Linked DNA regions of Homo sapiens: all the other regions are linked to region 3. Evidence: promoter capture Hi-C in 16 types of primary human blood cells and fetal thymus (Javierre and others, 2016). All regions are on one chromosome and are shown on one strand. Each heading gives the region's core, a stretch centred on a gene start or on the middle of the fragment in contact. The rest is flanking DNA. Distances are from core to core; before and after follow the strand shown.

Region 1 (2,891 bases), core at 383-2,882, 320 kb after region 3:
TCAACGCATAGAGTTGTTGTAAAGATTAAATGTGCTAATATATGCTGAGTACTTAGAAGAGTACCCCACACATATAGTTATATAGATTGGTATAACTACATTATATTGTAATTTTAAAATGACCTAAGCTTTTGTGATAGGTTGCTTGCAAAACTAACCCCCAATTCTCTACCTCCCCATGTATCAACGACCTTTGCACAGTTCCTTGTGTCCACAAAGTGTGGGAGGGGTCTATTTCCTCTGGGCTGACCTTGTAACTTGCTTTGGACAAAAGAATGTGTGGAAGTGATGGTGTGCCAGCACCAAGCCTAGGCTCAGGGGGACTTTCATGCTTCCATTGCCTCTTTGAGTGTTGCTGCTGCTACAAGCTAGCCTGCTGGATGATGAGAGGCACACACACTTTTAGCCCCATCCAACTGCCAGACATATGGACAGGACCTTCCTAGACCAGCCAGCCCCCAGCTGACCTACCAACTGGCTGCAGCTACATGGGTGAGCCCAGCTGACACCAGCCTGGCCCAGATCAGCAGAACTTCCCAGCTGACTCATAAATGTGGGAGTTTCAAGGCACTGGGTTTTGAAGTAGTTACGCAGCATTAGCTGGCTGATTAAATCATTAAAAAAAGATAGGAAGTGAATCCTTCATATCTCAGTCCCAATATTCTAAGTTACCCTAGTTTCTAAACACATACACCAAACTTAGATCTTTGGCACTTTTCTTTGTTTTTGCTGTTGAATAGCCAACAAAGCTAAACTCAGAATCAGCTAAAATCAGAATAAGCAAATGAACTACCAGCATGATGTCTCCTTTATCAATTAGTCCCCAAATCATGGCACACTTTGATAATAAATCACAGATCTCACTTTGGGCAACTATCATCAACCAGAGTTGAGTTAATTTGAAAAATAAAAATAAAAACAACAAAAAAACAAATGTTCTTACCTTGCTTTTATAGTAATTTCAAAATTCTTAAAGTTCTTGTAACCAATGAAATTATATTCTGGCTCGATTGAGACAGAAAAATGTGGCAAGACTGAAAATAAAAACAAACAGGTAATATTACCATTTTGATTAGAGCAGACTTTAAAGCCTAGCAAACAGCTAGACTTTCTGGTATAGTTGGACAAGCTGTAACATCAACACAACATCCACTTTATTATCATAATCATCATCGTCATCATCGTCATCACCAACAACAATCTCTGCAGAACCTTCCCACTCCAACAATCAGAGGTCAATCCAGAAGCACTTTGCCTATATTTTGATTACAGCATTTATTATAGGCAATAGGTTATTTCTTCCATTAGAGTATAGGTTCCTTGAAAACAAAAAAACTTTTCAATTGTGACATAACATAATGAAATTTGCATTTCAAGATTATTTTGGCTAATACCAAGCAAGATAGCTTGGAAGCAGAGACATCAGTTAGGAGGCTTTTGCTGTAGTCCAGGAGGGAGAGTGCTGATGAATTGATGAGAGTGGCTACAGACAGTAAGAGGTGGGTGGATTCTAGATATACAGAGAAAATACAAAAACACTTAGAAGAAGGGAGATGGGTTAGGATTATATGTTACAGAGAGCCTGTAATCTTTAAGGTTGAGTTTCATCATAACGAATTTGTTTTGTCACTGTTTTTCTTGTTAATTGTTAAAATTTGTGTCAGTATTTATTCTTCTCCATGTCATTATGAATCTCTTGAGGGAATAAAAAATGGCTTCAAGCAGAAGAAAGTTAAATTTGATAGCAGAGCACACAGAAATGCTAGTAAACTACTATAAGAAATGAAAGATTAAACTATTTACGTTACTTGTTAGTCTATTAATATAATTTATTTCAAAATAAGAATATCTTAAATATTCAAATGAATATATTAGGAATTTAGGAGCCAGAAAATAGTGTTGGACTAGGGGTAAGGAAACCTAATTGTTGTTTTTGTTTTGTCACTAATTGGTTTTAAGACTCAAGTAAATCATTTATTGGTTTTACTGGGTTCCACTCACCTCATCTATGACTATTTAAGTTTCTCCTAATAATAATCACAATTCTAGAAAGGATCTTTACTAGTCAAGCTCTTCAGGGGACTAGATCTCTTCCAGCTCTCTGATGGGGAACACAAGTACACAGAGGTTGTTCTGCTTGATCAGGGTTAAAGGCATGCTGGAACTAGAATCTAGGCATTCAACTACTACTCCTCCCTCCAACCTCTAGCCAGTACTTCTAGCCATACGTACAGGCTGCCTCATCTTCATCTGGGAATAATTTTGCATTAACTACATTATTAAAAAGAATTATTGCAAAACACTAACTTTTTATAGAAAAACTTTTAATTGGCTGGGTGCGGTGGCTCATGCCTGTAATCCCAGCACTTTGGGAGGCCGAGGTGGGTGGATCACGAGGTCAGGAGTTCAAGACCAGCCTGGCCAAGATGGTGACACCCTGTCTCTACTAAAAATACAAAAATTAGCCGGCTATGGTGGTTGGTGCCTGTAATCCCAGCTACTTGGGATGCTGAGGCAGAGAATTGCTTGAACCCAGGAGGCGGAGGTTGCAGTGAGCTGAGATCGTGCCACTGCACTCCAGCCTGGGCAACAGAGCGAGACTCCATCTCAAAAACAAAAAACAAAAAGCAAAGAAAAACTTTTACTTGTCAGAAATTACCATATTCTTTAACTTCAAAATATGCGGTTCCAGTTGTTGAAAAGTCCTCTTTATATTTAGCCTTGATCGTCCACATACCATATCTGTGGAAGCAAAATATTTAAAATTATAGATGTCATCAAATGTTTTTAATTCACTCAGAGGAGATCTAATAAATTCCTGTTTTAAAGAGGGAAGAATACACAAAGATATATAAAACCTAAGTAATATATTTTATTTGTGACTGATTTTT
Region 2 (3,072 bases), core at 171-2,670, 330 kb after region 3:
CTTGAGAGATTCCATTTAAAATACATATATTTCCTCACTTAAAAATGATACTAATAAGTCAAAATGTACTTGTGACCCACCATAACTTCAGCATAATTTCCAAGTAGTTTGGAATTAAGACCTGAGAAGCTGGAGGTTTAGTTTACATTTAGAAAGTTAAGGTGATAGCAGCACTTTCTCTTAGCTACTGCAGCCAAGGAAGACTTTTAATCATGTTGACCAGAACATGTAAATGGGGTCAATATTTTTTGCTCAATGAAGAAAAAAGCAGTGATTGAATTCCAGCTGTGGCATCTGCTGGCTGAGTGACCGTGGTAAAGTCACTAAGTCTTTCTGAGGCTAAAATAACTTACTGTGAAAATAATCGCCTTCTTTACCAGGCTCTGGTAAAGATTAAATAAGAACATATATATGAAAAGGTCTAGCACTCTTAGTACTCAATACATGTTAAGATTTATTAATCTCACTAAATTAGTTTAAAGGGAGTGATCTTAGAAATACTATGTTATACTAGTAAACGGATAACGGAAAGGATAGAATATGAGTGAGCTGGGAAGTGCATTTGGAAATGGAAATAGTGATGATGGTCCTTTAAGAGCAAATCATCATCTTCAAACAATAATGGTAATTAAGTACTTGCCACATATCAGAGGCTGTATCAGCACTTTACATACAGCTCTTGTTAATTTTTACAATAAGCCAATGATGCTGGTACTATCATTATTCGTACTTTGCAAGTGGTAAAAGGCTAACTTGGCTAAGGTTATACGGTTTGTAAGTAAATGGGGGAGGCCTTTATATGAGTTCTCAGTTGTTATGTGTACAGTTGAGGTCAAGTTTATATGTTATTCACAACCATAGACTGTTCTCTTATTTTTACTTTTCATGTGATTTATACAATAATGGAAGTGAGTCTATACATGCTTTTGAGTGATTTTTAAAAATTATTTTATTTAAAAACTTACAAATATAAACTGGATTACTAAGTGTATATCACAAGAGTATCTAATTTGAATAGCGAGAACTACATACGCTATTACATAGGAAAAAAAAGTGTTTTAACCCAAAAGGGCATAGTGATCGACTAATTCAAGTGGCCCAACAAGCTTGGAGGGCACCCACCACCCCACCTGGCAGAATTATTCCAGGCTTCTGCCAACATTGTGACATTTTAAGAGTCTGGTAAAAGCAGGAAGTTTTTAGTAACAATGGAATTAATTTATCAGCAATTAAATCCTTTAAAGCATCTGACAGTTATCCTGCATTACAATTAATTTGGATCCACTTACAGGCAAATTACAAAAGAGAGGAAAGAATTTCCAGATTTCCAACCATCATCTGAATTCCCCTTCCCCACATGCCTAGTAGGAGATGGCAGAAAATGAGAGGAGTTCAGTTTTTATGATAATAAGATATATTTACTGAAATTTTGCCCTGTGATAAGGCACTATTCTGAATACTTTATTTGTATAAACTCATTGTGTCATTACAACCACTCTGTGAGGAACTATTACTCCAATTTTAAGGTGAAGAAACTGCTAATTAATTTTCCCAAGGCCACACATATAGGATTTATGAATTCTATAATTCACAAATTATAGAATTAGAAATCGAACCTGAGCAGCCCGTTTCCAGAATTAACATTTTCAACTGTTGTACTAAATGGAATTTATAAAGAGTTTTGTAATTAGAAAAATTTAGGGATATAAAGCTACTTTAATTTCAGTATTTATAGAAGCTTTATGTTTTTAAGTTTAGTATTGCTTTAATTTTGAATTGTGTATGGTAGGGGTCCCCAACCCCTGGGCCATGGACAAATACCAGTCCATGGCTTGTTAGGAACCAGGCTACACAGCAGGAGGTGAGCAGTGGGGCAAAGGAGCATTACCACCTGAGCTCTGCCTCCTGTCAGATCAGTGGTGGCATTAGATTCTCCTAGGAGCATGAACTCTATTGTGAACCGCACATGCGAGGGATCTAGATTGCAAGCTCCTTATGAGAATATAATGCCTGATGATCTGAAGTGGAACAGTTTCATTCTGAAACCATCCCCACCCCAATCCTGGTCCATGGAAACATTGTCTTCCACAAAACCTGTCCCTAGTGCCAAAATGGTTGGGGACTGCTGGTCTATGTGATGGTAGCCGTCAAGCAAAAATACATAGTGTTTAGAAGCCCCTAAAAGAATATTCTGGAACCACCCTTTATAAAGATTTTGGTTCTTATTGACTTATCAGTAGCATAATCTATCCATATAAATAATTTCATAGTTTTCTTTGTCTTTCAATTGCTGCAGAGGAGCAGGAGCTTGCAGAGAGGCAAGAATGTTATTTTGGCCTCTATCTGGAATGCTCTTTCCTCAAATATTTGCATGGTTTGCTTCCTCACTTCCTTCAGGCTCTGTTTGAGTGCAGCCTCCTTAAGAGAACCTTTCCTGGCCACATTTTAAAATAGTGCCCCATAATTATTTTTTAATTCTCATACTCTGCTTTATTTTTTTCTTCATAATACTACCTACCTGACCTTACACATTCTTTCATTGGTTCATTCATTCATTACTTGCTTCTCCCACTAGAATGCAAGCTCTAGGAATTGTCTTACCGTTTGCTATATCTGCAGTGCCTATCATATGTTTAGATGCTCAATAAATATTTGTTGAATCAATCAATCAACCAATTAATTAAAGTGATTGATTGCCATGTTGTAAATGGTACACTCTGACTTCTTCAGAGAAAGTGAGGAAATAATTTTTATTAAGGGCTAGTAGAAAGAATTCAGAATAAGTCTGGACAAGAATCATGGAACCCAGGTCCTAGCCCTAGTTCTGCCACCAATTTGAAGTCACTTAATTTCAGTCTCTCTAAGCCTTAGCTGCTCGTCTTTCAAAAAGAATAAAGGCAGGATGCTAAGGTAGTTGAGTGCTTGTGGCCATGTAAAAAGATCACAGATCAGAAATACGAGGGTGCTAAAAAAGAATGACATCCTAAGTATGTGTTTATATATAATATATTTACATGTATACATTTATGACAAAATGAAAAAAATTGAAGTGATAAACAGGAGACCTTAATA
Region 3 (2,740 bases), core at 18-2,517:
TTGTTTTTATTTTTTGCCCTCAAGTGGTCCATACTACTGTTTGTAAACAAAATCCTCTCACTACCTCTCTTCCACCTGTCATACACACACATCTGATATTTACATAAACAAGAAGAAATGAACAGGGAAACTGGAGCTTTGGGAGGAATTCCTTACCCTCAGCTTTTGACCCAGTGGTTGAAGGAGGTACTATGCGGGCTTTCAAACTTCCCCAAATAACCCAGGCAGAGAGGCTGGGTGCGCGAACCCAACCCAAAAGTTTGCGCCCATTCTGGTCTCTGAAAAAGGCCAGAAAGCCCTGTTGGGAAGAAGATGAGATGCCTTCCACCCAGCAGCCACCCCCTCCCGAGGGAGCACAGCCCACGGGGGACAAAAGACTTTCCAGATTGATCGGGGGCGGGAGGGAGACTAGCTGGACCTGGGATCCCCCCTCGGGAGCCGGAACCTGGGGTGTCTTTGGGGTAACAAACGATAAATTATAGGCAAGAGCCCAACCCTAGATTGCCGGGGCTGAGGTGAGGACGGGTCCTGCCCGAGAGGGAGCGCCGGACTCACCTGGAGGAGGCGAAGAGGGGGCCTCGGTGGCAGGTGGGGTGGGGAGGACGCTGCTGTTGCTGCTGCTGGGGAGATCGGGGGTCGGGGTCCGGGGAGTCGTGGGCGCCGGTACGGTGGTCGCTACAGGGGTGGTCGGCGCCGGGCCAGTGGTCGTCGAAAGGGTGGTCGGCGCGGGTCTGGTCGGCGCCTGAGAGGTGGTCGAAGTGCGTTCCGCCGCCGGAGGGGTGGTCGGCGAGGGGCCGAGCGGCGCCTGAAAGGTGGTGGAAGAGGGTCCAGCAGTCGCCCAAAGAGGGGTGGTCTCCGGGGACTGGGCTGGAGAAGTCGCAGCCAGGGGTCGGTGGACGGTGGCGCGCGGGGGCCCGGTCCTCGGGGCCTGGGCCGTGGGAGCCGTCGCCCTAGGGAAGGGGTGGCTGGGCTCGCCCCGCAACCCGGGGCCCGGCGACGCGTCCACCTGCCCCGCGGCCCCGCCGCCACCGGTGACATTCCCCGCCGAGGCGGCTGAGGCGACGGCGGCGGCGGCGGCGGCGGCGGCGCAGCACAACAGGGCGAGGCCGCCCAGGCTCGGCAGGCTCCTCATGGCGCGCTCGGCTCCGCCATTCATTCATTCAGCCAGTCGGTTGGTCAGTCATCTTCTCCTCGTTGCAATCCGACCAAGGAAGCCTCCGCAACCGCCGCCGCCACCGCCACCGGGCGCACCATCGCCACCTCCCTCTGACAGGCGGCCGGCCCCGCGGGCGGGCCCCAGCGCGGAGGGAGCGACCGGACCGAGCGCGGACCGCCCGCCCTCCTCGATTGGCAGCCGCGCCTAACCAATGGGAAGCCACAGTCGCCCACGTGATCCGCCCGCTTCCCGGCCTCTTTGTAGCCCCGTAGGCCAATCAGAGGACGTCCAGGAGAGGGGGCGGTCCGTGAGGCGGGAGAAGGGTGGTGCGAGCCCAGCTCTAGCCCGCCGGGCTCGCGGCGGCCCCGGCTTTGTCTGCCCAAAGAGTGGGGCGCGGGCCTCGGGCACCGGGCGCCGCGGAGCAGACAAAGGATGCGCCCCGCGCGGCAGACGCCGGGCCTAGTCATCTGCTCCACCGGGCTGCGAGCACGAGCGGGGGGTGGAATCAGCACTCGGGAGCATCCCCGCCCTCCTGAACAATGGGGCGCCAGCGCCGCACCCCAGCTCGGGCGGGGACCGCGCGGGAACCCCGCGATGGGAGAGGGCAGCGGCAGCGACGATGTAGAGCTTGGCATGCCCTCTGCTGCTCCAGAGAGCCTGGTCGCAGCCTTGCGAGGTCTCTGCCGCCATTCCCATTTCAGAGATGGGGAAGCTGAGGCCCTTGCTGAGGGCCTCCCTGAACCGAGACCCACGCCCTCACCAGAAACCTGCTGTGGGCCAGGTGTTGTGCCAGACTGGACAAGGGGGCGGGACCGGGCGGTGGAGACCCCTGAGGGCAGAAGGTGCAAGCTTCCTGCGTGGAGGAGACAGGCTCGCAAGCACACTTACCTAAACCCCGGGAAGAATAGGATCAGACAGGGTTGAACCTCAACTTGATGTCTTTTGCTGAATGGTTTTGTGGCCTGAGCGCGGTTTTTTCACCACTAAAATGGAGATGATAGGACACCCCTCACCCCCCACCCCCCTCACAGAGCTGTTGTGAGAATTAAGTCATGGACGTAAAGGGCTTAGCCCAGAGCCTGGCCCACTGTTGTAACCCTCATTAATGCTAACTATTCTCAGCATTTGCGCCAGGGCAAGCCCAGGATTAGAAAGCAGCCCCAGGCCACAGCCCTTCAGTGCCCCCAGAGCCTCCGGCTGGTTGCAGGGGTTGGGGTGGGGCTAATAGCCGAGCTTGACCCTGGATGACACTAAACCCTGAATCAAGCTGGAATTCGGGCACGCAGCCTCGCATCATCCGCCCAGGATCCAGAGCTAGGTCAGGCGCTGCTGCTTCGGCTCAGCAGCTTCCAGAGGAAGCCAGGCAGGGCGGGTTTGTCATCTGATGGGGCTTAATTCAAGCCCCACTGCTAACCCAATCCCGGCCTCCCCTACGTGATGTTTGGCTTTGTGCATGGTTTCCCATTAGTCATTGGTCTTCAACCAGACCAGCAGGATGAGATTTATGTGTGAACCCGTGTATGTTAATTAAAGCATGCATTTATTTTCCTGCATGAGTAGTGGGTGGGGGAGGCTGTGTATGAA
Region 4 (2,956 bases), core at 328-2,827, 280 kb after region 3:
AAGACTAAGGGAGACTAGTGTAAGAATCCAGGTGGGAGAGGAAGGTGTCTTGGAACAGGATAGTGTGGTGGAGGTGGTGAGAAGTAGTCAAATTAAGGATATATTTTGAATCCATATCTGCTGGATCAGATGTGAACGGTAAGAGAAAGAGAGGAGTGAAGGATGACGAGGCTTTTAGCCTGAGCAACTGGAGGAATGGAGTTTCCATTATGGTTATTATTCTTTAGTTAATTAACCACTATATGAAAATGCAACTCAAAATCTTCTACTTACCAAGTGCTAGCACTTCCACCCTTCCACACACTGTAAGAGTAGTCAGCATTTCTGTAGGACATAATGCTCAACATCCCTAAGAAGCACAAGAAAAAGAACACGGTGCTTAACAGACCTCCGTTTCTACTCAAAGAACACTTTATCAGGCCCTGAGAATGGTAAGCTTCCTTTGGTGTTGGGCAGCAAGCATATGCTCTGTGGCCAGCATTGAACTTCTCAAAGGAAGTATATGAATTGCTCGAATTGGGAATTATCAAGTAGAACATTCTGATCTCATTCGAAAAGGAAGGAAGTGTTCTGTAGTTTGGAATGCAGGTGCCTTGCCTCTCATTCAGGCATTTTGGTAAGTTGAGCCAAAATGCTACAGAAATAATATTTATTTATATAGTAGAGTCCATCTCATGATTTTTTTGCTAAAATTCTCTTACAAAGTTTTCTATAATTCACAACTTAAATATTAGTTTAATAAAAATATTAGTTTAGAATCACCCAATTTTTATGTGAAATACTTTTTTTTTTTACCTTCTTTTAATTTTTTCTTCAGTTTCTGCTTTTCAATTAATGGGTCAGAATGAAAAATGTTCCAATGATTTCCTGTTTCCAGGTAGTGAAAAACATAGAATACTGGGACAACGCTCATCAGCTCCGCCTCTGCACTCCCTTTGGGGAGGTGGGTTAGGATATTGATGCCTTCCTGACTTAGAACTGCAGACAAGATCTCACCTACAAGCAGTCCTGAAACAAAAAAGATCAAAGTAGACACATTGCTTTTTATTAACTTCTAACAGTATGTTCTCAAGAGAGAAGAACAACCATCTAGAGATGGTTCTTCCCTTTTTATCTAGGCAGTTGACTTGCTTCTCAGAAACGGGGTGAGAAAAAAAGATCCGGTTAGGAACATGAATTTGAAAGAAACAAAAAAAAAAAAGACTTTAAAAATCACTAAAATATGGTGGTAGGTAATGTAATACAGTGGACTGATTGCTGCAAGAGAACATGGCAAATTAGTTGCCATTCAACCTGTTAGCTTTAGACATTATAAACCATATTTACCAATCCCTTCCAGGAAGCAAAGCAAAGAGCCTGAACAGGGAGTGCTGACATGACTGTCTATAATTCACTGTGCAACCTTGGACATGCCACTTTCTTTTATATCCAACAGCAGGGTTGCACATGATCAAAAAGATCCTTTCCAGTACTAACATTTTGTGATTCTAGGGTTTTATCTGAGATAAAATGTAGTCAGGACATTCTATCATTCGGTAATATGTTATTGAATTGTAAAGCCTGGAGACTAAGGAAAACCTAGTCACTTGTGCAAATATCACTTCTGCAAATGTATGCGAGGGGAGGAGAATCCCTGCTATGGTTTGAATGTATATGTCTCTCCAAAATTCATACACTGAAGCCTAATCACCAAGGTGATAGTATTAGAAGGTGGGGCTTTTTGAGAGGTGATTAGGTTATGATGGCTCCACCCTAATGAGTGGGATTAATAATCTTATAGACGAGGTAAGAGGAAGTTCTTCACCCCTTTTTGCCCTTTTGCCTTTCCACTTTCTGCCACAGGAGGATACAGCAACATATATCCTCATGGAAACAGAGAGCAGCCCTTGCCAAACACCCAATCTCTTGATGCCTTGATCTTGGACTTCCCAGCCTCCAGAACTGTGAGAAATAAATTTGTATTATTTATAAATTTTGTTATTTTGTTATGGCAGCATAAATGGACTAAGACAACCCTTCTGGGACCAGTACTTCAGCAGAGCAGTGCTGTTCTCGCTAGGCCATGTGCAGGCCATAGGCCTTCTCTGGAGCGGGACTGGCCACTAAGACCATGGAAAGTTCTTTAAGTCTAGAAGCAACTGGACCCCCATTTTAGAGACATCTTTGAGCCAATGACAGTCCCTACCTTCCATTGGAGGAGAATGCATCTCCATGTAAATCAGGCCGTTGGAAGAAGATAGTGGGAAAAGTGATTAAAGGTTTGAAAGTGGGGGTGGGTAGGGGTGGAGCACTCCTAAAGGTAGATTTGTGTGTGCTACTGAACACGGAAGTGGAGAAACAGAATAATCATGAGGATATTTGATTTTTGTTTGAAGCACCAAGTGAAATGAGAAATAAAAATGGCATTTGTTAATTTACCTTTTACACTCAAAATCCTTTTGATTTCTGTTTTGGGGACCAAATCTAAGGGTATCCTGTATGGGAACTCCTTTCGTCTGCTAATGGTACCTGTAATTTAGAAAATTTGGATTTATACAGAGTTTCCAGGGGAAGACTGTTTGCAGATTATTTATAATGTATCTACTTCCAAAGAATATTTCAAAATAAAAGACTTATAATTAGACTATTAAAATTTTAAAAGAAAGTTAAAAATCATCAAGGACTTTAATCAAACCCTAGGCTTGTATAATCTTATTAAATAAAGCATTAAATTTGGCTGTAAGCTTCCTGGTCATTATAAGATGTGAAATAAATAGGTTATATAAATCTTATTCACCAGCAAAATATAGCATGCCAGCTTGCCCAAAGACAGAAAATTGTTCCTGGAACTGAAAGCTAAGAATAACTAACATGTAATTTCTTAATCAACTATATATTGAACATTAGCTCCACAGGGAAGTATGATCTGAAATTCTTTCCACCTTCCCTTCCCAGTCTAGTTTTGATACTTTTTAAT

What was found. Contacts are between HindIII fragments. The CHiCAGO score rates a contact against its expected background, and 5 or more counts as called.
Region 1: a fragment that was not itself captured here is called in contact with the fragment with the promoter of MEGF9 in region 3 in 1 of 17 cell types (activated CD4 T cells); the score reaches 6.5 in activated CD4 T cells.
Region 2: a fragment that was not itself captured here is called in contact with the fragment with the promoter of MEGF9 in region 3 in 9 of 17 cell types (erythroblasts, activated CD4 T cells, monocytes and 6 more); the score reaches 9.5 in erythroblasts.
Region 4: a contact is called between a fragment that was not itself captured here and the fragment with the promoter of MEGF9 in region 3, in 4 of 17 cell types (total CD4 T cells, naive B cells, erythroblasts and 1 more). The highest score is 6.2, in total CD4 T cells.

The regions. Positions count from the first base shown.
Region 1 is chr9:121,029,454-121,032,344 of GRCh38, forward strand. C5 (complement C5) reads right to left here. Exons shown (of 41, transcript NM_001735.3): 6 at 2,660-2,742; 7 at 944-1,034. Among named protein-coding and RNA genes, the nearest start is that of C5, 19 kb to the right of the region's middle. The HindIII fragment of the contact is 3,012 bases long and covers 127-2,891 here.
Region 2 is chr9:121,046,460-121,049,531 of GRCh38, forward strand. All of the region lies in intron 1 of C5 (complement C5), which reads right to left. Among named protein-coding and RNA genes, the nearest start is that of C5, 2.3 kb to the right of the region's middle. The HindIII fragment of the contact is 632 bases long and covers 1,105-1,736 here.
Region 3 is chr9:120,713,203-120,715,942 of GRCh38, forward strand. It overlaps MEGF9 (multiple EGF like domains 9), which reads right to left and starts at 1,268. Exons shown (of 6, transcript NM_001080497.3): 1 at 556-1,268. The coding sequence starts at 1,156. RefSeq lists a silencer at 956-1,805. The HindIII fragment of the contact is 2,825 bases long and covers 1-2,003 here.
Region 4 is chr9:120,988,773-120,991,728 of GRCh38, forward strand. It overlaps C5 (complement C5), which reads right to left. Exons shown (of 41, transcript NM_001735.3): 23 at 2,419-2,508; 24 at 796-1,008; 25 at 274-349. Among named protein-coding and RNA genes, the nearest start is that of C5-OT1, 37 kb to the left of the region's middle. The HindIII fragment of the contact is 2,287 bases long and covers 435-2,721 here.